Linked DNA regions of Homo sapiens: regions 2, 3, 4, 5, 6 and 7 are each linked to region 1. The links are contacts of gene promoters, found by promoter capture Hi-C in blood cells and fetal thymus (Javierre and others, 2016). All regions are on one chromosome and are shown on one strand. Each heading gives the region's core, a stretch centred on a gene start or on the middle of the fragment in contact. The rest is flanking DNA. Distances are from core to core; before and after follow the strand shown. Region 1 holds the start of BCL11B (BCL11 transcription factor B). Region 2 overlaps LINC02295 (long intergenic non-protein coding RNA 2295). Region 3 overlaps LOC105370651 (a long non-coding RNA gene). Region 4 has its middle 14 kb from the start of LINC01550. Region 5 overlaps LOC105370651 (a long non-coding RNA gene). Region 6 has its middle 13 kb from the start of LINC02291. Region 7 has its middle 37 kb from the start of LINC01550.

Region 1 (3,890 bases), core at 384-2,883:
GGCGGCTGCGGAATCCTAGGACTGGCGCGGCCGGCACCCTGCTGGGCCGGGCGCAGGGACCGGGGACCCGGAGCCGGCGGCCGCCCCTGGCCCTACGGCTCCCCCAGCCGGAACGCACCCCGCTCTCCTCCGCCCGCGCCGTCAGCGCGGACCCACGCGCTCGCCAACTTTTCCCCACTTCCCGGCTCCCCCTCCCCCTCCGCTCCCCCAGCCCCCTCCCCCTCCTCTCCAAACCCCGCCACCAGCGCCGCCGCCGCCACACACGCCGCTCGGAGGGGCGAGCGTCCAGCCGGGCTCGGCGCGCACACACACACACTCCTCCAGCCTGCATGCCCCCTCCCCGGCCCGGAGCCGGCTCCGCAGGCCCCCGAGCCCGAGGCGCGTCCGGCTGCTCGGCGCCCCAACTCCCCGGGCTGCAAAGAAACTTTCCTATGGCCCCCGCCCCCCGCCATGCTCCAGGCCGACGCCGTAGACTCTGCCAGCCAGCGGGCGGCCCCGGCGCCTGGCCAGGCTCGGCTGTTCCGGGCTCGGTGTCCCCAGCCCCAGACGCCCGGAGCCCCATCTCCGGCCCCTCGCGCGCACTCCGCAGACACTTACGGGTGATGAGCTCCCTCTGGGACAAGTGCTGCGGGTTGCCCTGTTTGCGGCGGGACATTGCCCCGGCATCTATTCTGGCATCGCCCGGAGAGCTGCACTGATGGGGGGAGCCGGGGGAGGGGGTCCGAGCCGCCGCCGCGCCGCTGCCGCCGCTGCCGCCGCCGCCGCCGCCGCCGCACCTCCTCCTCTGCCCGGGTTGGTGTTTTTTTTCCCTTCCTCTCTTTCCCTCTCTTCCTCCTCTTCTTCTTCTTTATTTTGCTCTTTCTTCTATGCTGTTTTTTGTTTTGTTTGCAAAAAGAAAAAAAAGGGAAGAAAAGCAAGAAAAACCTCTCGATCTAAAATAAGAAAAAGAGGCAAAAAAAAAAAAAACTGCTGTTGCTTTCCGCGGACTGGCTGGTTTCTTTAAAAATATATTCTTTCGAAGGAAAAAAAATCTCTTACACTTCTTCAAACTGCTTGGCCTCTTGCACTTGCAAATGTCTTCTTGAACTTAAACTGGGTTTTGCACCGGCTCCTGACACTTTCTTTCAGGGTCTGGTAGGTGGAAAGCGCACTTCTACCAGGAGGGGAAAAAAAATGCAAACAAATAAAAAAATAAAAGAAGAAAAAGCAAAGGAAAAAAAAAAGCAAAGAAAACTTGGGGACTTGTCTCGTACCCCCTCACCCCGCCCCCTCAAAAAACCCAAAGCAATGTAAAACTGCCCCGGTTCGGTTGTTTCTGGGTTTTCTGCGGGCTGCCTGTTTTTGTTTTTGTTTTTGTTTTTTCTCGGAGACTGACCCTTCCGAGGCTCTGGGGGGACACCAGGAGAGGCTCCTTCCCAGTTCACCTGGCAGGCTGGCGCCGGCCGGAGGGGCTGCCGAGTCCCCGCGAGCGCTCCCCAGCGCTCCCCTGGCGCCGCGGGCCCGGGGGGAGCGGGGCGGAGGGGCGGCTCGCCCAGTGCGCCTGGGTCGGTGCGGGCGCAGACTGGGAGCTATAGATTGCAACGTGAAGATGGCGGAGTCCGGGTTCTCTGGGAGCTCTCGGTCTCTCTATGGCTGGGGCTGCCTCTGTACAATGGGATAAAATTCAAGTTCAAGTGCGGACGTGACGTTTAATCTGCACTAGAGACAAAAAGACCCAGAGAGTCGGAGCACTGGGGGCGACTAGCGGTGGCTTTTTAACATTGTACCCTGTAAGAGAACAAGAAAGCACACACAGAGACACACTCGCGCGCGCGCGCACACTCACACACACACACACACAGTCGCCAGTTGCGCACACCCGCAGCCCAAGCCGGACACACGTGCAAACCGCGTTTTTGTGCGCTCATCTCCCCCGAGCCCCGGCTGCGCAACAGCGGGAGGGGGTTGGGGGGGGCCACTGGGCAGCTTATTTTAAAATAAAAGAAAAATCGTCCTTATATCTCCTCCATCCTGGGAGCAGGACCCCCTGAGAAGGGGGGCGGGGTGCTGTGTGAGTGAACTAAATTGAATCAATGCAAGTCTCCACCCACCCAAAAGCTCTTTCGGACTTGGACTTTGGGGGTGGGGGCGTGGACTGTGGAAAAGGGTTGGGGTCGACATGGGAGTTGGGGGGACAGTAAGAATCGCTTCGTTTCCCTGGAAAAGTCGCTTGGTAGTTTTTACTTTTGTTTTATGGTCGCGGGCGGCGAGGGGAGGGGAGTAGATGTTGGAGTTCAACTTCCAAAAAGTGTCTCCATATAAATCCTGGTATTACAGACTCTGGGAGGGTGAGGATGACAAAATAAACGACACTAAGACAACAGAATCAAGAGCACGTGAGGGGGTGAGAAGTGTTTGAGACCTTGTTTGAGTCCCACTTGGAAAAGGATTTTCACTCAAATCTTTGTCCCCTCCCCTCACCTTACCCCGATTAACTCCTGGGGTCAAACACGACCCCACCTCCTAAACTGGGTCTATGGCAAGCGAGAGGGTAAAGGGACCGGGGCGCTCCACGTGGGAGAGGGACTTGGACTTGCCAGCCCAGGAGTAGGTGTGGCCAAATCTCCGCAGATACTCGGGTGGGTGACTCCAGGAGGCGCCCCTGACAATCACAGCAACCTGGAAGTCACACCCCGCCCCCCGCGCTCCTCGGCCCAGGGTAGGACTTGGAAATGCCTGTCAGACTGGGAAGGACGCAGCTGCCTTGTCAGCCGTTTGATCTCCAACCGGCGAGGACAAGAGGAGTTGTGGGGCCTCTCCGTGGCCCGGGGACAAGGCCAGACCACGGCCCCCGTGGACACCCCCCATTCCCCAGGCTGTGGCCAACTTTGTCAATTTGATGACCTGGCCTCCAGGGCTGGGCGCGCCACGCGGCTGGCCTCCTCTCCCTTCTCAGGGTTTCTCTGGAGGCGGCCAGGGCGGGTCGGGGCCTGGCTCCGGCTAGGCTTCGCGGGCGAGTCCAGCTGCACCCACCCCACTCCGCCCCCAGGCCTGGCTCCGGCGGCTTCACCCGGGCGCATGGCGAGGCCGTGACGCCTCAGCGCCGCCTCCCTCGGGGCCTTTTCCTCGGGGGGCACACGGGGGTTTTTGTTTTCGTCCCGAAGGTCTTGGGTGGGGCGATGGCACCAACAATTTAACAGCGCCCAGAGTCCGTGAGCGAGAACAGAAAGAGATCCCTTCCAGTCCCATACCCTAAAAAATAATAACAATAAAATGTGCCCTGGCTTGCAGTTCTGTAAACTGTGGGCTCCACGGTGGGCGGACGCGAGGCCGAGCGGATGGAGACCGGGGGCGGGGCGCGGACTTGCACCTCCTCGCCCTGGCCGGGCAGGCTGCACCCGGCTGCCCACCCCCAACACCCCACCTCCACGTGGTCCAAAGTCTAGTAGGGCCTCCCTCTTCTGCCATCCCTCTCACCGGGAAAATCTTTCCAGGAAAGTGGCTTAAAAAAAATATGCCCACACGCACCTTTAATAAACTTCTTTAAGACATTCATAAACTGGCCATCCCTACTCGCCCGGACTCTAAATTTGAAAGATCAACTCGCGCTCTCTTTCTGAGAACTAGCGATGTGAAGCCCAGAGAGGGTGAGCACTTTGCCCTAGGACACACAGCGCGTCAGGGACAGGTCTGGACCCAAAACACCGCGGCGTGCCTGCAGCCCAGCGCCGCCGGCGGTCCGGGACTCGAAATCCCGACCCACGACCCTCACCTTCCTGGGGTTGATTACAAGGAAGGCAGACCCCGCCAGTGGCAAGGCGGGACGGGGAGGACCCCTCAGGAAAAGGGAGCCCCTCCGCGAGCGGCGCAAGGGCTCTCGGAGTCCCAGCTGCAGCCGCCACCCCGCGTGC
Region 2 (3,731 bases), core at 26-2,525, 1.1 Mb before region 1:
ACATATATCTCAAAAATTTACGTTGAACAAGCTTGATAAACATAAACCATTAGAGACTTAGAATTATAAAGAAATATTATAATTGTATCTCATGTTCAAATGCATATAACAACCTGTTTAAGAATAAGCACCTCAACAAAAGTACGCATTTGTGATTTTCTAGATAGGTATTAGTTTGTGTTAGGAAATTCTACAAGGATCATGTTGATGCTGAGGTCACATTTTGTGTTTTCTTCAAAATTGAATTGAGCTTAAACTCTGGATTTACAAACCAATGTCTGAATTCCTGAAAGAACTCAAAGCAAGTCAAGGCCAGAATGATGTCCTCAATCTCTGTGCCATTGCAGAGCCCAAACTCAAGAGAAATGCACAAGAGATGACTTATTCATTGAACACACTTTTCTAGTTGGCCCTTTGTCCAAGCTGACTGGTGGACTGTTCATTGATAACATATTTGATGTTTCACCAAATATATTGTCAGCATTTAAACAAATGTACTCTTCATGCCATCATTCTTGACCCACACTTCCAATGTTACCTCTCTATGAATTCCCTGGCTCGGCTCTGGCTCACGCCTGTAATCCCAGCACTTTGGGAGTCCGAGATGGGTGGATTACTTGAGGTCAGGGGTTTGAAACCAGCCTGGCCAATATGGCAAAACCTTGTCTCTACTAATAGTACAAAGTTAGCCGGGCGTGGTGGTGCGTGCCTGTAATTCCAGCTACTTGGGAGGCTGAGGCAGGAGAATTGCTTGAACCTGGGAGGCGGAGGTTGCAGTGAGCCAAAATCGTGCCATTGCACTGCAGCCTGGGCAACAACAGTGAAACTGCATCTTAAAAAAAAAAAAAAAAAAAAAAAGAAAGAAATTCTCCTTGTCACCTCAGGATAGATCTAAATACTTTTCAATAGTCTTACACTTCCTGGCTTATAATATGTAACTATTGTGTTCTTATCTGTATCTGTCAGCTGTGCTGTAATGATGCTGTGTAACAGATAACTTCCAATTATTTGTTACCCCATGTTACATGCCAGCCTTAGGTAGGCTGAAGCTTTGCAGCTCTGTGCTCAAAGGCTCCCCTCCAATCTTCTAGTGGAATGAGGATCTGCTTCCTGGGTCTTCTCATACTGGGACCCAGGTTAAAGGAAGAGCCCCTGCCTGCTGAATATTGTTTGTTCATGGCAGATATCACGAATAAGGGAGTTGGCTGAAACTCTCACTGCCTCTAAAAGCTCTTACATAAATGAGGTTAATGTTACATTTTTTTAAACGTCCTGTTGGCCAAAGAAAATCATACAATCAACCTCAATGTCAAGGAAATGGGATATAAACTCTTCAGAACTGCAAAAGTGGAGAGGAAGTAAATGTTTATGTACAAAGAACAAAATTGATTTTGTTATCTACATATTATGTTTCTCCCCCACTGATCAATAAGGTAATGGGTCATAAAATAGATATCTGTCTTTCAATCTCTTATTTCTAGCATATAGTGTGTTTCCAGAGAAAGCTTATTTAATACTTGAGTATGTCTTTAGATTCACTGGTAAAGGAGTAAAGGCATTAAATGGTACTTTCTAAAATGGTTAAATTGTATCAATATTTAGCTTTTTACATTTCTCTCTCTCTTTCTCCTCACACACACACACACGCACACATCTTTTCCTTTAATAGTGCCATTTTAAAGATGAAGAAACTGACCTAAAGAAATGAAGAAAGTCTGTGTCCAAGGTAACATAGTTAACAAGTATCAGGATGATAAATCATACAGTCTTGTTGGACTGCAGATCATATAATCTAATCCATAATCTACCTACATTGTCTTCTTCTGCTTTGGCAAACTGGATGAAGCAAAAGAGCAAATGGTTTAAGCAAGAGTGTGTTAGGGGAGCTTCTTAGATGATGTGCCAGGATATTAGAGTCAAGCAAGGAAGGTCATGCCTTCCTTTTGTCTTACTATAAGAAGAGGCGAATATGAAGATACACCATGTAAGGGCATCCTTACCATAGGCATTAGCAGCAGATACTCTTGTAGGTTGAGGGATCATCTAGCAGTGCTTGCCTAACTTTCTTATATTACAGCACACATAAGAAATGGTTTTATCTGTTTGACACTGCAAGAAACAGCAGATGTGTGAGCAATCTGGAAAGAGGTGACATAGGCCTATGAGGCCACCTAAAATAACTGGAACACCCTGCTGAGGACAAGCCTACTGGAGATCGCCCCATGCTCCAGAAAGACACACACTCACTCCAGTGGGAACCAGAGGGGATGGGTAAAAAGGTTGGGATACAACCCAGTCATAGGCAAGGTGACCTAACACCTTGCATGAAATATTTCTCAGAGGTTTACTAAGCACTCACGTAAATACTGATGAATTCTTTATTCGAAATTCAACTGACGGCATAGGATTGGAATAAATTACAGTATAATAACTGGTCTTGTGAGTCATTCAATCTGAGAATGTGAAGGACTTTAAATGTCATTATTCTGATTCCGCACTTCAGGGCTTGAACACCCCTATGTGTGCATTGCCCATTTGAGTCCTCAACTGTCCTCAGCACAGCCCAGTCTTTTCAAGAGACAATTTCTTTAATTATATGGGAAACTCTAGTTCAGAATCAATAAATTTTATAATGATCACTTGTTTTTTAAGCTTGCTCAAAAGGATAGGAGACTGCAGTAGCTGATAAAAGTGTTATTACTCAGAGAATTGGTTATTAGCAGGCCAACCAGAAAGAGAAAGACAAAAAAGTGTTGTTTTCAAAAATTAGAAAATATAAGGACAAAGAACCATGGTGTTCTGGCACATTTGGTATAAGGGCACCTCAAAGTCATGATTGTTTATGTAACTAATAAGTGTTATACACAAAATAAAGTTTGAAGAATAATTAAGTGGTTTTGAATATGTATTGCAAAGTTTTCCCACCGCATTGAGATAAAACAAACACATAAAAAAAGACGATAGGAATAAATTTGCCTTCAGAGGCAGAAAGGGAAGGATTCACCCTTGTTGAAGTCCCACCTTATGCCTGAGATTATACACCTGTTATTTCCTCTAGTTAGCATAAAAAGATCTTTTAGGTCTGTTTCATCTCATTTTTACCACTGAGGAGGCTGAGATTCAAGGAAAACCCTCTTGGTTAAATTTATATTGAGAGCCTCTAATCCAAGGGCTTTCTCTTCTAACGTCCCTGCTGTGAGATGTATGGATAATATGGATAATCCTTGCATGTGGAAGTGTGTTTCCAGATGAAGTAAGAAAAGTTGAGGTTCTGGTATTAAAGATAATGTCTTGGAAGACAGGGGGTTGTCAACATTTTGCGCAAAGTCATCTGCAAAACTAAACCCAGATCCAGGGCCCTTCCCTTCCCTGCCTAGCTGGTTGCAAGTTGCAAGCTCCTTCCCCTAAGTGAATAAGAGAGGGAGGTAGAGCTTGGACTTCACATGCAGCCTGCCTGTGTGAGTGACCGACAGCAGGCTCACCCAAAGCATCAACTAAGTTTTGCTTTCTTGTATGTATAAATAACAACAGCAATGTGCCACTAGCACAGTGCCGTTTCATTTAATGGCGCAGCACTGAGCAACTTAATTAATCTTTTGGTCTCTGAAACATTCATCATAGTTTTTCAGGGGCTCTGAAAAAATGTGCTTGCCTCTTGAAGCCATTGACACAGAGACCAGTGAGGAGTGAGTTGGCTTTCCCTTAACAAATTTGCTCAGCTGTGAATCTGG
Region 3 (3,635 bases), core at 196-2,695, 1.5 Mb before region 1:
GGGTGGGGGCGCTGAGATTTAAACTCAGGGAGGTTGAAGGCAGACCAGGCTTTTAATCACCACTGTATACATCACATTGATCATCAACATTTGAAAAATACTTTAGGCATTCGAGCATACAGGGCTGAATGTTCGCGTACATGAGTCATGCATGTGTGCATATGAAATATGTATTCATTTTTTACTTATCTGTTTTCTTTGAGGCCCATGGAAGAACTCGCTAGTGGAAACTGTCAACATTGACTAGCTATCATGAGCCAGGACTGATGGGATGACGTGAGCAGAGGACACCATTATTTTGTGCTTCATCAAAGTTGCAAGCTTAATAAGTGACAAAGTGGGGTCCAAAACCCAATTGTAAGTCCACTACCCTATTAGATTTCTCATGGGGGCAGAGGAGAAAAGATTGCATATTTGCATATCAGGGCAGCTTCATTGCTTTGCACATTTGATTTTAATATTTGTAATAAACATCCTCTGATGATCTACATCTCCAGATTTGAGAAGCCTAAGGATGAGACAGTGATAGACAATCAGTCCAGCCACCAGCATCCCGTTGGTACAGTTAAGTCTAAGGAGGGGCAGGTGCACAGCTGGGAGGCTCCAGCCAGCCTAAACACACAGACTGAGACAGGACTTGGGGGCATGGAGGCCAGACCGTGAACTCAGGGCAGCGTGACCTTTTGGGTGTCACTAATTCACCACCTTGGCTTGCACAACAGTCCATTGGTCTTGCATCAAAACCTCAAAACCTCCGTCCTCTCTCGCATACCCACTTACATGTTGGCAAAGGTTGGAATGTCTGCCGAGAAACCTGGTGGATAGCCTCCCTTTTCCACACTCACAGAAGGAGCTTTGACAGTTCAGGCCTTCTTGAAAAGTTAGAAAACTGTCCTGGGTAGTGAGTATATCTATGAGAATTTGGAGGTAAAGTCTTTTTTTACAAGAATGTTAACTGAACTATAGTAGACCTCTCTTATCCGCCAGGCATGTGTTCCAAGATTCCCAGCAGATGCCTAAAACCCTGGGTAGTACCTAACCCTATTTCCATCATTTGGAACACATTTCAGTTCATAATTTCCACCCACAAATTTAATGCCTTTTTCCATCTTAACTAAGCACTTATCACGCACTGGGGCCATAACTTTTGCAGTTTAAGATATGACAGCAAAACTAGCATGAATTTCTTTTTCCTTCTTCACAATTTCACAGATAGAAGATTTATTCTTACAATAGATCTTAGCAACCTCAACATATAATTTTTTTTTTCCTTAAAAGTCAAGAACTTTCACCTTTTACTTAAAGGAAGCATTTTACAGGCTGGGCACGGTGGCTCACGCCTGTAATTCCAGCACTTTGGGAGGCCAAGGCAGGCGGATCACCTGAGGTCAGGAGTTCAAGACCAGCCTGGCCAACATGGTGAAACCCTGTCTCTACTAAAAATACAAAAATTAGCTGGGCGTGGTGGTGTATGCCTGCAGTCCCAGCTACTTGAGAGGCGGAGGCAAGAGTATCACTTGAATCTAGGAGGCTGAGGTCGCAATGAGCCAAGATTGTGCCATTGCACTCCAGTCTGGCTGACAAGTGTGAGACTCCAACTCAAAAAAATTAAAAAAGGAAACACTTTACAGCTTCTCTTTGGCTTATCCGAATTGCCAGCACCACTATCGTTGCTCAGAGGGGCCATTACGAAGTAAAATAAGAGTGACTTGAGCACAGACACTGCGATGTCATGACAGTCAGTATAGCGAAGACAGCCATGAAGTGACTAATGGGCAGGTAGCGTAGACAGCATGGAATATGGTGGAAAGTGATGATCCATGCCCCAGTGAGATGCAACAGGACAGCATGATATTTTAGCATGCTACTCAGAGCAATGCAACATTTAAAACTGATTAACTGTTTCTGGAATTTTCCATTTAATATTTTCAGGCTGTGGTGGATCGTGAGTAATTGAAACTGTGAAAATACAGATGGGGGGATTACTGTACTTACCGGGCATGACCCCAGGGATGGTGGTGCTAATTAAAACCATGCATATCTCCTGCCCTCAAGGAACTTAGGCTGAACTGGAGAGACAGATACAGGGGAGGGAGGGTTCTGAGCAACACTGCCCAGTGACAGGAGTATCCAGAAGGCAGGGACCATAAAGGATCACAGTGCAAGGGGCTTGCAAGGATCCCAGAGGATCCTGGTGGGGTGAGGTGAGCTGGTATCCCAGGTTTTGCTGAGGATGTGCTATTTTCCAGGGATGCATGGTAGAGATGCCAGGTTCAGGTCTGAGGCAGGTCTCAACAGTCGATCATATTTTGGTGGGAAAGAGAATGCAAAAGCATCATTTGGGGACTTATTCCTAACTCCTCATGGCTTCCTAGGACTGGAATGGAAAGTGCCATCCCTCAGCCAGATGGGGCTTTTGAGTGGAAGAGCGGAGGAGTGGGGAAGGGCTCTTGTCCTCCTGCTCCATCTCTTGGGCAACTCCTGGAAACCCTGAGGGAGAAAGTATCACCATGGGCCCCATGGCAAGGGTGGCCTCTGACAAATATGTTCTGCTAGTCCAAACTTCAGTCAAGCTTTTGGACCTTCTCTTAAGCCCATCTCTGTACTTCCTTGTAAAATCCAGTTTTATCAAAGAACCCTGCTAAGTCAGGTTAGCAAGAACCCATCACCCTTGATATCTGATCATCCTCAACCTCTGATCAAGTTCCTCATCTTCCATCATCCCCTGGGTGTTGCCTGATCACCCTGGCTTGTCTTTAGTGAGAATCCTGCATACATCACATTGATCATCAACATTTGAAAAACGCATGAGGCATGAGAGTCTACGGGGTGAATGGACATCTACATGAGTGGGTTGCTTTGGCCAGAATCCTCCCCGCTGACGTTTTATCTTAGTACCTCTGCATCCACTGACCCTGCCCTGCTCCTTGGCCATAAATTCTCATTGGCTCATGCTGTATTTAGAGCTGAGCCCAATCTCTGTCCCTGACTAAAAATCTCATTGCAGGGGTCCTCGTGCTTATTGTGATGGTCCTAAGCATGGGCCACCTACTGTGCTTTCACGAGTGTCATTGAATCTTTTTTTTTTTTAAACACCTCACAGTTGAAGCAGGATCACACAGGGGACTGGGTAATTTCAGATATCTGAAATTACTTCCCTCCTCAAAGGCTCAGTAAAAGCTTGAATGGGTCCACCAACTGCTAGGACACCTAGTACAGTCCTCTGACATCTAAAGCCCTCTTTTTATTTCAGTGACTCAGAATCCAGGCCCCTGGACATTTCTCCAGCCACACTGCCAGCCACAGGGCTCTCTTCTCCAGGGCTGTGGGCTGTCCTGGGGCTGTCTCACTCTCAGCTCTCAGAGACCAGCAGAGCTGCCTTTTCCTGTCCTGCTGGTTTCTGGGTCTCTTCCCTAACAAGACCCAGAGCAGTTTGGCCTACTTTGGAGAACAGCCCAACGGACTGAGCGATGGGAGGAAGTGATAAGTGCAGCTGTCTCTTCAGCCCATGGCTTCTTCCTCTGGGGAGACTGAGGTTCTCACGGTGCCTGCAAGGCTGTGGGAGCCGGGACCTGCCCTTAAAGTTAGTCTCCAGCTGGGGGAGGTTTCCCTGAGCTGAGCCCTAGATAAGTGTG
Region 4 (3,924 bases), core at 844-3,343, 1.3 Mb before region 1:
AGTTGCTGCTATAGGCTGTCCAGAATGGCCCTCAAGAGGCGGTCTTTAAAATGCCACTGGATAGCATCACTCCCTTGCAATAAGTTGGCTTCTAGGGTCCTCCCTGAGCCTAGATCATTTATTCATTCAACAGGAAATATATATATATACATCTATATATATGTATATATATATATATAGATGTATATATATATATGTATTTTTTTTTTGAGATGGAGTCTTGCTCTGTTGCCCAGGCTGGAGTGCGGCGGTGTGATCTTGACTCCCTGCAACCTCCTTCTACCAGGTTCAAGCGATTCTTCTGCCTCAGCCTCCCGAGTAGCTGGGACTACAGGCGTGTGCCACCACACCCGGCTAATTTTTTTTTAATTTTTAGTAGAGACGGGGTTTCACCGTGTTAGCCAGGATGATCTTGATCTCCTGATCCCGTGATCCACCCACCTTGGCCTCCCAAAGTGCTGGGATTACAGGCATAAGCTACTCTGCCCAGCCCAGCAACAAATATTTTTTAAGCATTGTCTGTGTGCCAAGCACACTGTTCTTCCACGGGAGCTGTGTTCAAAACCCTTTATTCAAGAGATCAATGCTGCCTAATGCTAGAAAAGACCATTTATTCTTCCTGCCATGGCCGTGCCATCCAAAGAATCTGTCTTTGCTGAAACAGTGGCCGATCAGTCATATAATTCATTATCAAAGCCTACCAACTAATGGAATCTCCCCTTTATCCTACTCCATTGAGCTTTACTAAATTCCTCCCCCACCCCTACAAATGCCCAAAAGTTTCTTTCTTCCTTTCTCCTCTCCCTTGCTTGTGTTACTATGGTGAACATTCTGCCCTGCCAGCATCCTCATGAGGGCTAGTCTCAGGTCAGACCAGATTCCCAGGACAGGGTATAGGATGTTTATTTCATCTTCCCTTGGAAAAGTCCTAAAAGCATATCACAGAAAGCCACTAAATGCTAAGACTCACACTTCTCATTGTAATTCCAACACTTTTCTCTCATTATATAGATGCTCAGAGATCTGGAGAAAAAAAGCTTAATTAGGTTTTGTCTATATGAGTAATAAAGGTGAAGGGGTTATGGTTACAAGATGGGAAGGGCCTTGTGAGTCTATAGGATTCAACCCTCTGTCTCAGGTAGATCTACATACAAACTCCACTGAACAGGAAGGGAAGATGGTTAGTAAAACTGACTGTTACTGTTGTTGTTCTTTGAAACACCTCTAAGAAATTGAAAAATCTCTTGGGATATAGGGCCTGTGAACCCTCTTTGAAGGCATTTGTAAGACCTGTTAAAGTCAACTTCCTCCATATGATAGCTAAATGGACAATTAGTGACCAATATATGGAATTATTGTTGCTGCATTTTACCTGTTACTTGCTCCCAGTCACCACATCCAGGCTGGCCTCAACATGGCTAATAAAATTATCTTCCTGAAACACAGGCCAAATCAGTGTCACCCTTTTCCCCAACCTCGGAAGGCTTCAGTAGATTTCCACTGCACATTAAGTGAAGTACACAATAATTACCATGGTATGGAAGACCCTCAGTCATCCATCTGTATGCCTGGACAACAAAGACACATGGGCTTTGAAGCCTGGAAGACTGAGGTTCAAATTTTATTTCTGCAATTTGCTAATTATTTTGCTTTAGGACTGAGCCTCAGTTTCCTCATCTCTACACAAAATGGCAATTAGAACCTCTGTCTCCTAGTGCTGTTGTTTGGATTAAATAAAGTGAGACTTTTAAAATACTGAGGACGATGCCTAGCACAAAGCAGGCCCTCAATAAACTTTGTTACCTTAAGTGTAAACTGCACTAAAAATTATTATCTTCTCTGTCAGCTCTCTGATCTCCAAATTTATTTCCTATCATAATCTTCCTCTCATTGAGTGCTCCATTTGAGACGTTTCTCTCTCCATTCCCAGGACACACTCTGCTAAATAGAGTCTTCCCCCCAAAATCCCTGCCATGCCTACTCCCAGAAGTTTACCTTTTCCATTCTAACCTTGCTCATTCTCTCAGTATCTGCTCTTTAAGGAAGTAATTTTCTTTTTAGGTATATATTTTTTCTTGCATCTGGACTTGATTCCCATGATACTTTTTGAGAATCTAAGGTGGCACTTACAGCCTTCAGCCTATTTTTAAACATGTAGTTTACTCTACTAAATTGCAGGTTTGCAGAGGGTAAAAATTGTGTCTTTTATATCTCTCTATCACCCCAAGGCACTGATAAAGCTGCATCCGTCATGATAAAGCAGTATGATGAGATCTTTTAACAGGTCATGCTGAAGTAACAAACAATCCTCAAATCTCAGGTGCTGACTACAACAAAGGTTTCTTGTTTGCTTGCATATATGTCAATCGTGGGTCAATGGGAGCTCTCCTCCTTGTGTCTCCTTTGTACTGAGATCTGGGCTGAATATGTACAGCTCCTCTCTGGCACTTGACCTTCTTGAGGCAGAAGGAAATGAGTTCATGGCAGAATGATGCAGTGGTCCTTAGATTCTCTTCTGGGGAGTGGCGTGTGTCACATGATGTGGTCAAACTTGGTACCACTGGGATGGGGAGAGCAGATGCTTTCCTGGGATGTTGCACCACACACCCCATAGCAACAGGCAGTGGTGTAGCATCATCCAGAGAAGGGCGGCAAAATATTTGAACACATTATTGCAGTTTACCACCCTTGTACATCAGAGGCTGTCAAGGAATGCTATGAAAATCAAGTCAATTTGCATCATTTTAAATAACCTTCTGAAACCCATAGTCAATGGCAGTCAGAATATTACTAAAAACATTATTTACTTAATTAGAAAATGTGCCCTTTGTGAAGAACTACCAGTGTGATTTCCCTTAGCTCTATGTATCAGAAGTAAGTGTTCTTTTACCCATTACCTATGAAACACTGTTCGTTATTTTACTGGCTACTAGGAAGCTCCTGCCTAAATAATGGCTCCCATTGGTGAATTACACAGGAATTTATGGAAACTTTTTCAGAATTGACCTTATGCCTGGCATTATTGTATTTTACTTCTACCCTTATTCACCCAGATGTAAGTTTACCACCTGTATTTTTCATAAACTATTAAAAAATACATGGATTATAAACAAATGAGCTTATCTTAGACATACCCTTTGAGACTGTTTGAAGCTTGTCTGCCCACTGGACTTTATTGTATTCTTGCTTAATGCTTTAGCTCTGCCTTTGAGGAATAAATGAAAACACATGTGGAAGACAAATCACTCCTTGTCCTTCCAAATATGCCATGAACTGCCTGATCAAAGGGAAATGAGAAAAGCCACTTTTCAAATGGGGCCCCAGGGGTCCCTGAACCAAACCAGTCTCTCTGGGGCCAGGAAGGACAGATCCCCAAATCTGCTCCAGTTCCCCAAGGTGCCTGCTGGACCCAGCACCTTTGCCCTCATCATCAATGAGAGGAAGCATCGATGTAATCCTTTATGCTTGGTGGGACTGTGGGAAATAATATCACAGACAAACACTGGACCCCCAGGAGGGGCCTTCTTCAGATGACAGGAAGGCAGACACAATTGCAAATACCTTGTGCCTGTGTCTTCTAAGACAAAACAGTTGGACTCTTTGGACACATGGCTGATCTTCTCTCCACACATAGGGTAAGAACAATTCTATTCCTTACCCCATGGCTACCAAAGTGATGGATTCCTAATGCTGGGCTGACTGTTTCATGCATCTTTATGAGTACCACGTGGGACTTCTCACTGAGTTTACGATGAAATGTGAATCCCTAAACTCGGATTTTGGGGCCTTCAGGAGCAGCTTCCTCATTCTCCATCTCTTGTGTTTCTAATTCCCTAAATTTTACATGCTCTTCCTTAAGTCCATTCCTTTGCAGTTAACTTTAAAAAATGATGATGATAGCAAAAATAACAATAATGATACTAA
Region 5 (3,851 bases), core at 423-2,922, 1.5 Mb before region 1:
CATGGCTCTTCCTAAACAAGCATGATAGAAGCAAAGATTGGACTAGTAGAGATAAGGCCTTTCTGCACACATGAGGGGAAGGCTCATGTACTGCTATTTGTCTGCAGAGTGGTTGGCTACTGTGTGCCCTCCGGGAAGAGAAATGTTCAAGCTCAGGTGCAGGTCAAGGCCAGGTGTGCTCATCCAGAGCTCTACAACTAGCTGGTTTCTCTGAAATGATTAAAGGGAGGATAGAGGTTTAACTCACTACTGGGGAGAAAGAAATGGCAGAGATGCTACTCATGTCTGGGACATGCCAAGGCTGAGAAATCACGGCTCAGGCAGAGACTTAGGCATCAGTGGGCCCAAAGGTTCATAGGGTGGGTATAGAAACAGAAGGGTAGTGATGTCCTGTGCATCATTCTCCAGTGAGAGCCAACATGTGGACTGGTGACATGTGTCTCCCTGCTAAGTCATTTTATAGCAGGAGAGTGCAATCCACCACTGGGCCCCAGGACAGAAAATTCCTGTTTGCATGGGAGAATCCCACTAGACAGAGCCCACCTCAGTTGAATATAGTGGGAGGAGGAACACTGGCCAAGAGGGAAAGTGAGAATTCTGAGGTTTAGAATTCTCCAATGGAAAGGAAAGGCAGCCGACCCTTTCTGAGAATGCAGACAAGATGTCAAAATAGGTCTTCCTCTCCATGGTGGTAAGTGCACCTTGTGCAAATTAAATTGTCAAAGAAAGATTTTCCCCATTTGAATTTAAGGTGCCACCTTTTGGGATCCAGATGACTGACATGAATGAACTGCAACCCAATGGGGCAAAACCGGGAAGCTTTTCTCCACTGCCCTCTCCACAGAGTTGCTGTAGAGTCTTGGATATTAAGAGCTGGGCTTGGGAAACTTCATTTTTCTGGGATAACTAAGAGAAAGTGCCTTAGAGTTGGGGGTTGGAATGTTTTTGGCATTTTGTGGTGAGGAAAACAGTGTTAGCCTTCTCAGTCCTATGTGTCCTACTAACTCTTTCAACTCTTTAAGTAGAGAGAGGCTCCTAAGTGAATTGGCGTGGCACCAAGCCTTCCTCTCAGTCCTAAAGTAACCACACTCATTTCAGCAGAAAATGACCTAGGCTGTTGCTGCTCAAGGAATCCCAAGCCAAGGCTGAGGGGCAAATTAAATCAGGGAAGAGAATTCTGGCGCTTTCACCTAAGAATTGTGAGATTTGAACTTTGAACTTGAAAGGACCAACAATCCCACGATATCAGTCCTTAATTTCTTTGGGATCCAACTTGCAAGGGGATGTAATCTTCAAATTGTACCTTCTCAGTGGGACCTTGATAATAGGAGAGGTTTATATTCAAATTTGGGGAGGCTCAAATGTTGCCGTTTGCTCAGTGGAGTGACCTTGTGTGCTTGTTACCTTCCTGTCTTCCTGGGTCATTCATCTCCCTGTAGGGTCTGTGCTGGTTTGGCAACGCAGCTGGAGATCTTTCAGAGCAGGAAGAGAGAAATGAGTCAAGTTCAGCCTCGACAGATGAAGCCTCCTTGCTGTTAACCCACCTCAGAGCCTTCTAGTGGCAAAATCTAAACTGCACCCCAGTAGCCCCAGGGGCCCAGACAGGAGAATGGGGTTGGTATCAGGCAAGGAGCCTATGAATGTGGGACGGATCAACCAGATAGATTGCTGATCTGTTCACCTTCTTTCTGGGCACAGTGGCGTCACACACAGAATTTTCAAGCCCACTGTGTTAGGAGCATGCTAATCTGGTTTAAGTCAGGACAATGCTACTTCTCCTTTCTTACTTTTCCTTCTAGGTGAATAAAGCATCTTAGCATCCCTCTCCTGGCTTCCTTCTGCTGCTTTCCTGAATATGCATGGCAGTATGCATAGAACAAAACATTCTCCCTGCTCCAAGAAGCAGGGTCTCCCTAGCCTGCCCTCATGGACAGGTGAGCCTCAGTCCAGCAGAGCCTATGGTTGGAGGCAAAATGGGCCTCTTCCTGGAGTTCCGTTAGCAGGTCTATCTGCCTCTCACTCTGAGCTCTGCCCTCTCCCTGAACCTGGTAACAATAAGAGATATGTTGGCTTTGAACGATTTGATTTCTTGTCTCCTTTTTCCACTTGTTCTAAATCAAAGTAGGGCAAAATATTCCTGTTTGTAGAGCAGAAACCTCAGAGACCTCAGCCCCAATATCTCTTCCTACCACAGTTTTCACAGACTATTAGGATCCCGGTGCAACAGAAGTGTTGAGAGAGCCCTTCTGCAAGGAACGAGAACCCAGCCAGGGCTCCACACTCCCGGAGAAGTTCTCTGTTCAGAACCACCCACTCTGTCATCTGGGTCCTATCAGTTCATGCGGATAGCTGCTGCCATCACAAGGTGCCAGGCGCCATGTTGGGCATGTGGGTTACCTCATTGAATCTTCAAATAGATGCTGGTTTTGTCCCTCAGGAGATGGAGGCTCCGAGAGGATAGGAGACTTGTTCAAGATTACTTGGCTCCTAAAGGATGACATTGGGCTTCAATTTAAGTAGGATTTCAAAGCTTGTGGCCTTGTTTCATCAGAGGCGAGCATCTCTACTTCCTCGGGACCAGGATGGGTTGACCTGGGCTTCATGTCTGAGTCTACCACTCAGTAGCTGATTAACCCTGAGGAACACCCTGGACCTCTCCAAGGCTCAGACCTGTGAAAGGAAAGACCTTTCAACCCCCACCCTGGAGTGCACCATAGGATCAAATGCAGCTGCGAATATTGTGCAAAATTTTAAACACAAAAACTCCCCATGAGACTGAGCTGATATCTCATGGCTCTGGTGGCAAGCAAAAACACAAAGGGGAGAAGCCTCTTTTTTTCCCCCCTACTTCAGTTTTCTGTGTCAGTGCTTGTAAAATCTTTGGTGTCATGAACACCTCCTCCAAGTCTTTAGAAGTTCAACTTGCATTAGGATTTGACAAGGAAGTCCTTTGTTACTGTTTTCTTCTCTTTCAAGATTAAAAGAAAAATCTAAATATAGGACTGCCTTCTGCTTAGCATAGTGCATTTTCAGTATAAGCAGACTGACTGCTCAGTCAGACTGAACAAAGCCCCGCGCCCCGAGCTGCCTAGCACCTGAGCCACTCTGCAGCCTGCCTCGTCCGCCTTTGATGCCCACCTGTCAGTCCTGCTGCATGGTGAAGAGGCCCCAATACTGCCTTTCTAGGGCTTTGTCTTCTATCAGCTGTTTTATCTTTGCTTGGCTTCAAGCGTCTCTCTCTTTGTTCTCTGCCTTCTGTGTATCTCTAACGTGGCAGTCTTTCATTCCAGACCCCAACCTCCTCCCACAGCCTCCTGCACCAGCTTCTCAGGGCCCACAGGCAGCATCTTGTGTGGGGACCCAAAGCGGCGGTTTGAGGCCACTGTGCAGGCTCATCCATCCCAGCTCTCACTAAGAGAACCCGAGCTGTTAAGGAGCAGGCTCTGCCTCCCCTCCCACCTCCAAACCTTTGCCAAGGCTGTTGCCCTATCCTAGGCTGGATTCCCCTTTGGGCTGCTCCATGACTTGTCAAAAACATATCCTCAAAAGTTTAAGGGACTCTCAAAGCTAGCTTTTTCTCAAAGGTGTCCAGAGCGCTTCTAAACAGAATCTTCTCCCCATTGTGCTCCGCTGCATTTGTTTCATGATGCTACAACCGCATCCCTCTCTGCCATGACTTTCTTTGTGTGATAACCCATGTCCTGGCAAATATGAATTCCCAACAACAGAGACCACTCTATTGGAATTTATACCTCCAGCCCCTTCCCTCTAGCCCCAGGTGTGGGTGCCTCGTACAAGGCAGAACTCAATGAACATTGTAGTGTGTGCTGAAACTTCCTTTTTTTTTTTTT
Region 6 (4,016 bases), core at 1,382-3,881, 1.6 Mb before region 1:
GCAAACAAAAGTCATTCCTGGGAATCCATCAGGGCTCCATCTGCATCCACTCCTCTCTTCCTTGCTTGCTCCTTGTTTGTGCTGGTGGTGGCTTCTGTCCCCCAAAGGTCCTCTTCAGTCTCAACTAATTGTCCTGGTGCCATTGGACCTTGGCTCTTGTAAAAGTGGTGTGAGGGCTGAGTCCCCTCAGTCCAAAACCTTTCCTAATCTTAAACTCACACCATCCTAGTATTGATGCTGAATTCATCTTTGGGGCTTTCCCAGCTGAGATGTGTGGTCCGTCTGGTCTACTAGCTCGTCACACTTCTGAGCAGCCATTTCCTCCTGGTTTCTCTTCTTGTTTTGGCTCCAACCCCCACTCCCCAGAGCTTAACACTGGCTCCTCTGATGTGGTATTAGGGTTCTCCTTTCCTGCTGGTAAGACCTAAGAATTCCCTGAGCTCCCATTCATCCTTTAAGCTTGACCCTACCCTGTCCTTCCCATTCTAAACACCACACAGTGTGCTTCCCTGTCCAGTCACCTTCACAGTGCTCTCACTCTTTTCATTTACAACCCTTACCTTCCCATGAGATGACCTTGTCATTTGCCATTTTGTTGGATTGTATTTCCATCTACACCACTAGTGTGTGAGGCATGGTGATATGAAGCTAGTCCAGAGATCAGGTCCCTGCCCTCAGCCGTCTTATAGTCTAGTTAAGGAAAGCAAAGGGCATCTGTTCACTGTGCAAACTGTCCCAAGGCACTGCCCCTCTCTGAGCCTTACATTTTCTGCCTCTCTCAGGAGAGGCTAGGCCACTTGATTAAAGGGGTTGTTCCTGCTTTAAAGACCCATGACTCTGGAGTTGCGGCTTCCCTTAATGTTCCTGGAAGAGCAGACAAGACCAATTTGTGATACCTGAATCTGATTAATGTGGGAACAGTTAACATTGGGAGGAAAGTATCCCCCCACTGCTTCTTCCCTTTCCCCTCCAGGCAGCTTTTATGTTTCTGGGCTTTTATCCCATTATCCCAGCCTCATTTTATTAGTACCACCTGGAGAGGAGCCTGCGCCCCACCAGACACCGGAGCAAATGCAGAGAGTCAGCTCCCCAGGTTTTGTTAGCCTTAGTGCTCTATTTACACACTTCTGGGCCACACCTCTCCTCTCCCTGCTGTTAATCTGGGAAGAAAATCTTTGCCACTGGCCTGGATACCAGGAAAGGAAGAACTTGCTGAAGCCACTTGAAAACTGAATCCACTTTTTAGTTCTTCCTAGCCTAGTGGAATCAGACTGAGGTTTTCAAAACAACTGTATTCTGTCCAAAGAACGAGCATAAAGAAAATAGACAGAACTGAAAGGAAGGAGAGGTTTGGCTGACTTGATCCAGGTGGCTGATCCTAGTCTGCCGGTGACTCCTGATGACTCCTGGCCTTTACCTGTGCTCTACCCCATCAGACAAAAACCTGAACGCATTCCAGTCCTCAAATATGGCATTCTCTCTCTCCTTCCTGAAGCTCTTCACATGGGCCTTTTTACCTGGAAAACACTTGGTTGTACCAACTTCGACATTTCTCCAGAGGTAATATCCTCCAGGCTGTTTATCCTGACCTCTCAAGCTTCAGTGATATGTCTACATCTACCTTCCTATGATATTCAAGTATGAATCTTGACACTTGGCCTGCAGTAATGAAGTTCAGCTATGCATGCTGGTACTTTCTACTGTCTGCAGGGGAGGAGTTATGACCAGTAAATGAGAAGGTCAAACACAGGGTAACAAGGCAGTGCTAGAAGGAACCTAGGGAGCTTTGGGAGCTCAGGGAAAGGGTTATTTACCCAGGTATGGGCACCACGAAAGACTCCTCAGAGAAGAGGCTTAAAAGATGAGTAGAAAGATAAGGAGATTGGAAAAGGTCTTCTAAGAAAAGAAGACACTATGTGCAAAAGTTTAACAGTGAGAAAAAAATGGTGTGAGGTTAAGAGGATTGTATCAGTTAGCTTTTGCTGAGTAACAAGTCACCCTGATACTTAATGACGTAAAAAACAAAAACCACTTACTTGGATCACAGTTTTGCTGGTCAGCAACCTGAGATGAGCTCAGATTTGGAATGGGTAGTTCTGCTAATTTAAGCCAGACTTAGCTGATCTTGGCTGGGCCTCACTCATGCATCTGAAGACAGGTGCTAGGTTTTCTGGAAACTGGCTGCTGTCAGATGCAGTGCCTCTTATCTTCTCAACATGGCAACCAATCATCCAGCAGTTTATCTCAGGCTTTCTTATTTTCTGACTTATCAGGGTTGTAAAAGAGAAATCAGAGCCTATATGTTTTTTTTGAGGTCTGAACTCAGAATCTGTCCAGCACCAAGTTTTGCTACATTGTACTGGGCAAAGCAAGTATCCCGGATTCCAAGTAGAATATATTGGCTGTGTGCCCGTGTTTTCTGTGTGTCTTCTGCAGAGAATTCCATTCCATGCAGAACGGCCATCTTTATGCAATCTTCTTTGGGGTGTAAGCCTGGAGAAGCAATCCACAACCATATTATGAGAAGATTTATGAAGTCTACTAAAGTTTGGATTTTCCTTCAGGATAAAGGGAAAATTTGTTAAGTATTTTTAACAAGAAATGAAAGACATCAAGATGTACACAATTTGGAAGTTGCTCCCTGGGTACTCTTCTGTTGGTGTGAAAAAGACTACTACTTGCCTAAGTAGACCCAGAGAACTCATCTGCCTCTGGATTCCCAGGGCTGCAATTCACCAACCCTTGGTCTAAACAGAGTTAGTAGGCATGTGAAGAATTTATTAAGCACCAGCATGAAGGTAGGCATAGAGATCCATAGAACTGAGATGAAAATCCAGAAATGGACCCTTGCATTTGTGGTCAATTGATTATTGGCATCAAGACCAGCCAATGGGGAAAGAATACTCTTTTTAACAAACAGTGCTGGTACAATGGGCCATCTGCATGCAAAAGAATGAAGTTGGACTCAGTCACATGTTTTACACAAACATTAACTCAAAATGGAAATAAACATAAATGCAAGAGTAACACTATAAAACGCTTAGAAGAAAACATAAGCATAGTTCTTCATGACCATACACAGGGCAACAGTGCCGTCAATATGGTATGGAAAGCACAAGTGAGCAAAGAAAAAAAAGATAAACTGGTCTCATTCAAATGGAAAACTTTTGTGCCACTAAGTGAAGATTGAAAAAAGTGAAAGATTAACCCACAGAATGAGAGAAACTATTTGCTAAGAGATACTTGAAAATATTGACAAGGGTCTTACATCCACAATATATAAAGAACTCTTACAAGTCAGCAATAGAAAGGCAGACTAATACTCCAGTTTAAAAAAGTGGGCAGAATATTTAAATAGAAATTTCTCCTAAGGAGATCGATCAATAGCCAATAAGCACAGAAAAGCTGTTCAACACTACTAGTCTTTGGGAAAACGCAAATTAAGACCATAAGTATCACTTCGCACCCATTAGGATGGCTAGAATAAAAAAGACAGTAACCTCTGTTGGTAAGAGTATGCAGACATTGCTGGTGTGAATGCAAAATGTCACGGCTACTTTCGGACATAGTTTGGCAGTTCCTCAAAAAGGTAAACATAGAGTTACCAAGAGTCTGCAACTCCACTCCTAGGTATTCCCAAGAAAAGTAAAAACAAATGTCCACAGAAAAGCTTATATGAGAATGTTCATAGCAGCATTACCCATAATAGCCCCCAAATGGAAACAACACAAATAACCATTAACTAATAAATGGATATATTAAATGTTATATAGTCAACCAAGTGGAATATTATTTGGCAATAAAAAGGAATGAAATATGATATGATATGGATGAACTTTGAAAACATCACGCTAAGTAAAAGAAGCTACATATCTCATGATTCTGTTTATATGAAATGATCAGAATTGGCAAATTTATAGAGCTAGAAGGTAGATCAGTGGTGTGTAGGGCTGGGGTGAGGGTGGAGAAATGGGGGAAATGAGAATTGATGGCTAATACATTTGGGAGTACTACTT
Region 7 (4,202 bases), core at 149-2,648, 1.3 Mb before region 1:
AACTTCTTTTATTTATTTAATTCATTTATTCACCTAGAAAGGCAATTTTTACCAGCTGCCTGGCAGGTTCTTCTAAACCCAGACTCAAACTCCACCCCTTTGTATTTTTATGGATTGCTCTTTCTGTGAATACAGGTGGGGCAATTAAACCCTGAACTTAGCATTTGGTATTTGGTTATTTACTGTGTTTGCTAATGGTTTCCCTAGTTAATTAATATAAGCTTATCATATTAGAGATTTCAACTTTCCTGAAGGAAACTAAGAACTTCTATCATGACCTCAAGCCTCTATAGAAATCCCAGATTTGTTTTAGGTTACACCAAGACAAATCAATACCAAATCAATCGTTCAGAGTCAAATAGCATTTTACTGAATTTACAGAATTTTATAGAATTCAAGTATTCCTTAAAATTCGCTGGAGACAGTCATCACCTTTCTCATTAAAAAAAAAAAAAAATTAAGAGATAGGGTCTCACTATGTTGCCCAGGATGGAGTACAGTAGCTATTCACTGGTGAGATCATAGCACATTACAGCCTCAAAGTCCTGTGTTCAAGCAATCCTCCCACCTCAGCCTCCCTAGTAGCTGGGACAATGGGCATATACCACCATACTTGGCTCCCTTCCTCATTTTAAAATAATTTAGTTCAGAAATATTAAATGGCTCACCCAAAATCCCATAGTTAGTGGTGGGACTTGTTGGGTAGGTAAATAGGTGATAGAGTCCTGACAGTGAAGACTGGAAAATTAAAAAGGGGTGCAAAAAGCTAACTGATTTTCTTCCTCCCTCCTTTCCTCCCTCCCTCCCTCTCTCCCTCCCTCCTTGCCTCCCTCCCTCCTTGCCTGCCTCCCTCCCTCCCTCCTTCCTTTCTTCCTTCCTTCCTTCCTTTCTTTCTCTTTCTTTCTTTTTCTTTCTTTCTTTTTCTTTCTTTCTTTCTTTCTTTCTTTCTTTCTTTCTTTCTTTCTTTCTTTCTTTTTCCTTCTTTCTTCTCTTTCTTTCATATGTGACAGGCATTAATTTAGGAATAACACCATAGCATTTCATCAATTTTCATTTTACAGATGAAAATCTGTAGATCAATAATCTCAGGTCCTCAGCAGAGCATGGTTTTAAACACTAGTTTTGCACCCTTGTCTGTCAGACAAAAAAAAAGCGTATTCTCTCTCTCTTTTTTTTGGTGTTTTGTTTTGTTTTGTTTTGTTTTGTTTTGTTTCATTGGAGACAGAGCCTTCAGACTAGAGTGCAGTGGCTTGATCTCAGCTCATTGAAACCTCCACATCCCAGGTTCAAGCAATTCTTGTGCCTCCAGCCTCCCAAGTAGCTGGGACTACAGGCATGTGCCACCACGCTCAGCTAATTTTTTGTGTTTTAGTAGAGACAGAGTTTCACCATGTTGCCCAGGCTGGTTTCAAACTCCTGAGACCAGGCAATCTGCTTGCCTCGGCCTCCCAAAGTGCTGGGATTACAGACATGAGCCACCCCGTGCCCGGCCCATTATGCCCTTTATTTCTAAAGAAAAGATGAATGAATTAATGTATCCATTCACTCACCTATCCATCTTCTCATCATCTCACTGCTACTAGGCTCTGAGTGGACCCTCATGATACATATGTGACCCAGTCAGGCTTCCTCTTGCTTCACTGAATTTCACATTCTTCTGGGGAAGATCCTCTTGAGGCAGACCACCTACTGTAGGCGACTCTCCTGTCCACTGAGAAGCCAGAAGCCAGGGGACAGTGCTAGGCCTCTAAGATCCAGCAATGATTTCACTAAGAGTGTGAGCCCTTCCTAGAGAGACTGGTTGGTTGCTCTAGTATTGCTCAATACCATCCTTTGTTCAAATTCCATCTTGAGGAAGCATGGCTGTGAGCAAACTTTGAATTCCCCTACAGTTGTCTAAAGCTAACATTCAAGTCCATATTCCAAGCCATCATCAAGAACTATGGCTTGCCACTGTCAAGCCATATTACCTTGGAAGATTTGCAAGTTTTCTTTGAGCCACAGGCTCTGTTTCCAATGGCACACTTTAAAGAGAAAGGTGATGCTTTGGGACTAAGGAATTAAGTGTTTTCTTCCTAGCCCTGGGGAAAGGAGGTCAGGGTGTATCCATCAGAAACTCATGGACGGTGCTTGTCTGGAAACAAAGAGAGGCAGCTGGGACTCCCTGTTTGAAGTTGGATAGAGGCCCGGTTTTGAGGGAGAGGCATTTGGAGAAAGTCTTTGGAGAAACCATATTCATGGCTGTTTTGTTGTGTGACTAATGGGGTTTGCCAATTTCACTCTCCAATGTGTAACTACCTCCACTAGACTGCCTTCAACAAATTAAAATTAAAGAGTAAACCCTTAAATACCTACTTCCAGTTGATTTGGCCTCAGCAACGTACCAGTGAAAATTGTATTTTAATTTTTGACTTTTGTTAAGAATAAATAGTCAGAGATGTTTTACCCCTTTAGGCTTCTCCATTAAAAGTCCATCTAAATGCTATCAGCTTTATTAGCTAACATGAAAATTAATTTTTTTCCCAAGGTGAGTTATCATTGTATAATTCCATTGGTTAGCATTTGCCTTAAATTCAAAGCTTCTCTTGAAAGGTTTAGCTTAGCAATACTATCTCAACAATTCTTAGGCTGGTTCTGAATTCTAATCTTGTCACTGCCACTGCTTTGTTGTATTTTCCCTAATCAAGTGTGTTCTACCATAGGATTTCATGCATTCCTAGTAATTCCTTCATTCATTCACAAATTTGCTTTTCCATTTATTTGTTTTGCAGGCATTTACTTAATCTCTCCTATGTGACCGACTCAGCTGAGACTACAGGTGCACACTACCACACCAGGAAACCTTTTTCTTTTATTTTTTTAGATGTGGCCTTGCTATGTTGTGTAGGCTGCTCTTGAACTCCTGGCCTCAAGTAATCCTCCCACCTCAGCTTCCTGTCAAGTTTCACTATTAAAGGTCATTTTTTCCATTAGAACCAATGCTTCATGAGGTTCCTATGAGATCGCATATCTGTAGTGTAACTGACAAGACCCTCATCTGCAAAAAGATGTCTTGTATATAGAGGGCCTTTTTCTATTCTTATCACTTCTGAGCTGCAGAAGGTCTCCTAAAGATCAATAGATGAATATGCAACCAATTCGGACTTTAAGGCATTTTACCTGATCTTAGACAATTGCTTTTTTTTTTTTTTTTAGAATTGAAGAAACTGAGGTCCATAGCAGGAAAGAAAAGTGACCTACCTAAGATCAGGGCCAGGGCTAGGACCAAAGCCCATGCTCTTAACTCCCAGTCCTCTCCCCACTTTCCCACCTGTCCAGGCTTGCCCAGGCACCTACCAGTCAGTGCTCTTCCTCGTGCAATTCACTAAGCCTCCATTTTCTTCCCTGATTGCTTTTTTAAAATCCATCCAATTCCAAGATGTCTAAAATAGTTGCATCTAGCTTCATCTGGGTTTAGCTCAGAATGTTTATATAATCTTTTTCCTGGTCATAGAATCCCAATAAGTTATTGTTACACCCAAGAGGGCAAAGGCCAACCAGACACAGCAACCTAAAATTCTTCCCCCATAGGCTTTGTAGGAAGATGGGAAAGTAGTTGTGCACATAGCTGGTCCCAGCCTGACTTGATTCAGTTCAGCCACCCACCACCACCCCCTCAATAAAAGAAGAAAGAGAAAGAGATAGAAAGAGAGAGAGAGAAAGAAGAAAGAAGAAAGAAAGAAAGAAAGAAAGAAAGAAAGAAAGAAAGAAAGAAAGAAAGAAAGAAAGAAAGAAAGAAAGAGAGAGAGAGAAGGAAGGAAGGAAGGCGGGGAAGGGAGGGGAGGGAGCGAGGGAGGGAGGAAGGAAGGAAAGGAAGGAAAAGGAAAGGAAAGGGAAAAAGAGGAGAGAATGCGAAAGTGTTCTTGTAGCAGGATCTGGCCACAGGTCACCCAGCCCTACCTTTTCCTCATGAAGCTATGCTTTAATAGGGGCTGTACATTTACAGATGGATGGGCAGTCTGGTCCCTGCGCCTCGCATGCTGATGCTGAGTGTTCTGGGAGTGGCCGGTGCTCCACCTCTGAGAGCAGCTTGACTCCTCCGGATCCCCCACTCAAGCCCAGGAGGAGACATGGAGAGTACTCTGGGCTGTGATCTCTTGGTTTTCAATTGCAGGATTCCTGTCGAGGTCTCAGCACTGGGGCATTTCTCCAAAGCCTTATGT

The links. The method cuts DNA at HindIII sites, captures the fragments that hold promoters and counts their contacts. A CHiCAGO score of 5 or more calls a contact.
Region 2: a contact is called between a fragment that was not itself captured here and the fragment with the promoter of BCL11B in region 1, in 2 of 17 cell types (M1 macrophages and fetal thymus). The highest score is 5.8, in M1 macrophages.
Region 3: a fragment that was not itself captured here is called in contact with the fragment with the promoter of BCL11B in region 1 in 1 of 17 cell types (fetal thymus); the score reaches 5.8 in fetal thymus.
Region 4: a fragment that was not itself captured here is called in contact with the fragment with the promoter of BCL11B in region 1 in 7 of 17 cell types (activated CD4 T cells, total CD4 T cells, naive CD4 T cells and 4 more); the score reaches 12.1 in activated CD4 T cells.
Region 5: a contact is called between a fragment that was not itself captured here and the fragment with the promoter of BCL11B in region 1, in 1 of 17 cell types (fetal thymus). The highest score is 11.3, in fetal thymus.
Region 6: a contact is called between a fragment that was not itself captured here and the fragment with the promoter of BCL11B in region 1, in 1 of 17 cell types (naive CD8 T cells). The highest score is 6.4, in naive CD8 T cells.
Region 7: a contact is called between a fragment that was not itself captured here and the fragment with the promoter of BCL11B in region 1, in 1 of 17 cell types (naive CD4 T cells). The highest score is 5.4, in naive CD4 T cells.

The regions. Positions count from the first base shown.
Region 1 is chr14:99,270,564-99,274,453 of GRCh38, forward strand. It overlaps BCL11B (BCL11 transcription factor B), which reads right to left and starts at 1,634. Exons shown (of 4, transcript NM_138576.4): 1 at 598-1,634. The coding sequence starts at 655. RefSeq lists silencers at 1,481-1,560, 3,845-3,890. The HindIII fragment of the contact is 13,366 bases long and covers 1-3,890 here.
Region 2 is chr14:98,149,317-98,153,047 of GRCh38, forward strand. The region is part of intron 2 of LINC02295 (long intergenic non-protein coding RNA 2295); the gene reads left to right. All of the region lies in intron 1 of LOC105370655 (a long non-coding RNA gene), which reads right to left. Among named protein-coding and RNA genes, the nearest start is that of LINC02295, 15 kb to the left of the region's middle. The HindIII fragment of the contact is 456 bases long and covers 1,048-1,503 here.
Region 3 is chr14:97,773,726-97,777,360 of GRCh38, forward strand. LOC105370651 (a long non-coding RNA gene) reads left to right here. Exons shown (of 5, transcript XR_944186.4): 3 at 204-357. Among named protein-coding and RNA genes, the nearest start is that of LINC02312, 13 kb to the left of the region's middle. The HindIII fragment of the contact is 2,252 bases long and covers 320-2,571 here.
Region 4 is chr14:97,989,813-97,993,736 of GRCh38, forward strand. No RefSeq gene overlaps it. Among named protein-coding and RNA genes, the nearest start is that of LINC01550, 14 kb to the left of the region's middle. The HindIII fragment of the contact is 2,116 bases long and covers 1,036-3,151 here.
Region 5 is chr14:97,795,186-97,799,036 of GRCh38, forward strand. It overlaps LOC105370651 (a long non-coding RNA gene), which reads left to right. Exons shown (of 5, transcript XR_944186.4): 5 at 2,195-2,385. Among named protein-coding and RNA genes, the nearest start is that of LINC02312, 34 kb to the left of the region's middle. The HindIII fragment of the contact is 1,711 bases long and covers 818-2,528 here.
Region 6 is chr14:97,697,649-97,701,664 of GRCh38, forward strand. No RefSeq gene overlaps it. Among named protein-coding and RNA genes, the nearest start is that of LINC02291, 13 kb to the left of the region's middle. RefSeq lists an enhancer at 369-418. The HindIII fragment of the contact is 2,073 bases long and covers 1,596-3,668 here.
Region 7 is chr14:98,013,240-98,017,441 of GRCh38, forward strand. No RefSeq gene overlaps it. Among named protein-coding and RNA genes, the nearest start is that of LINC01550, 37 kb to the left of the region's middle. The HindIII fragment of the contact is 2,358 bases long and covers 220-2,577 here.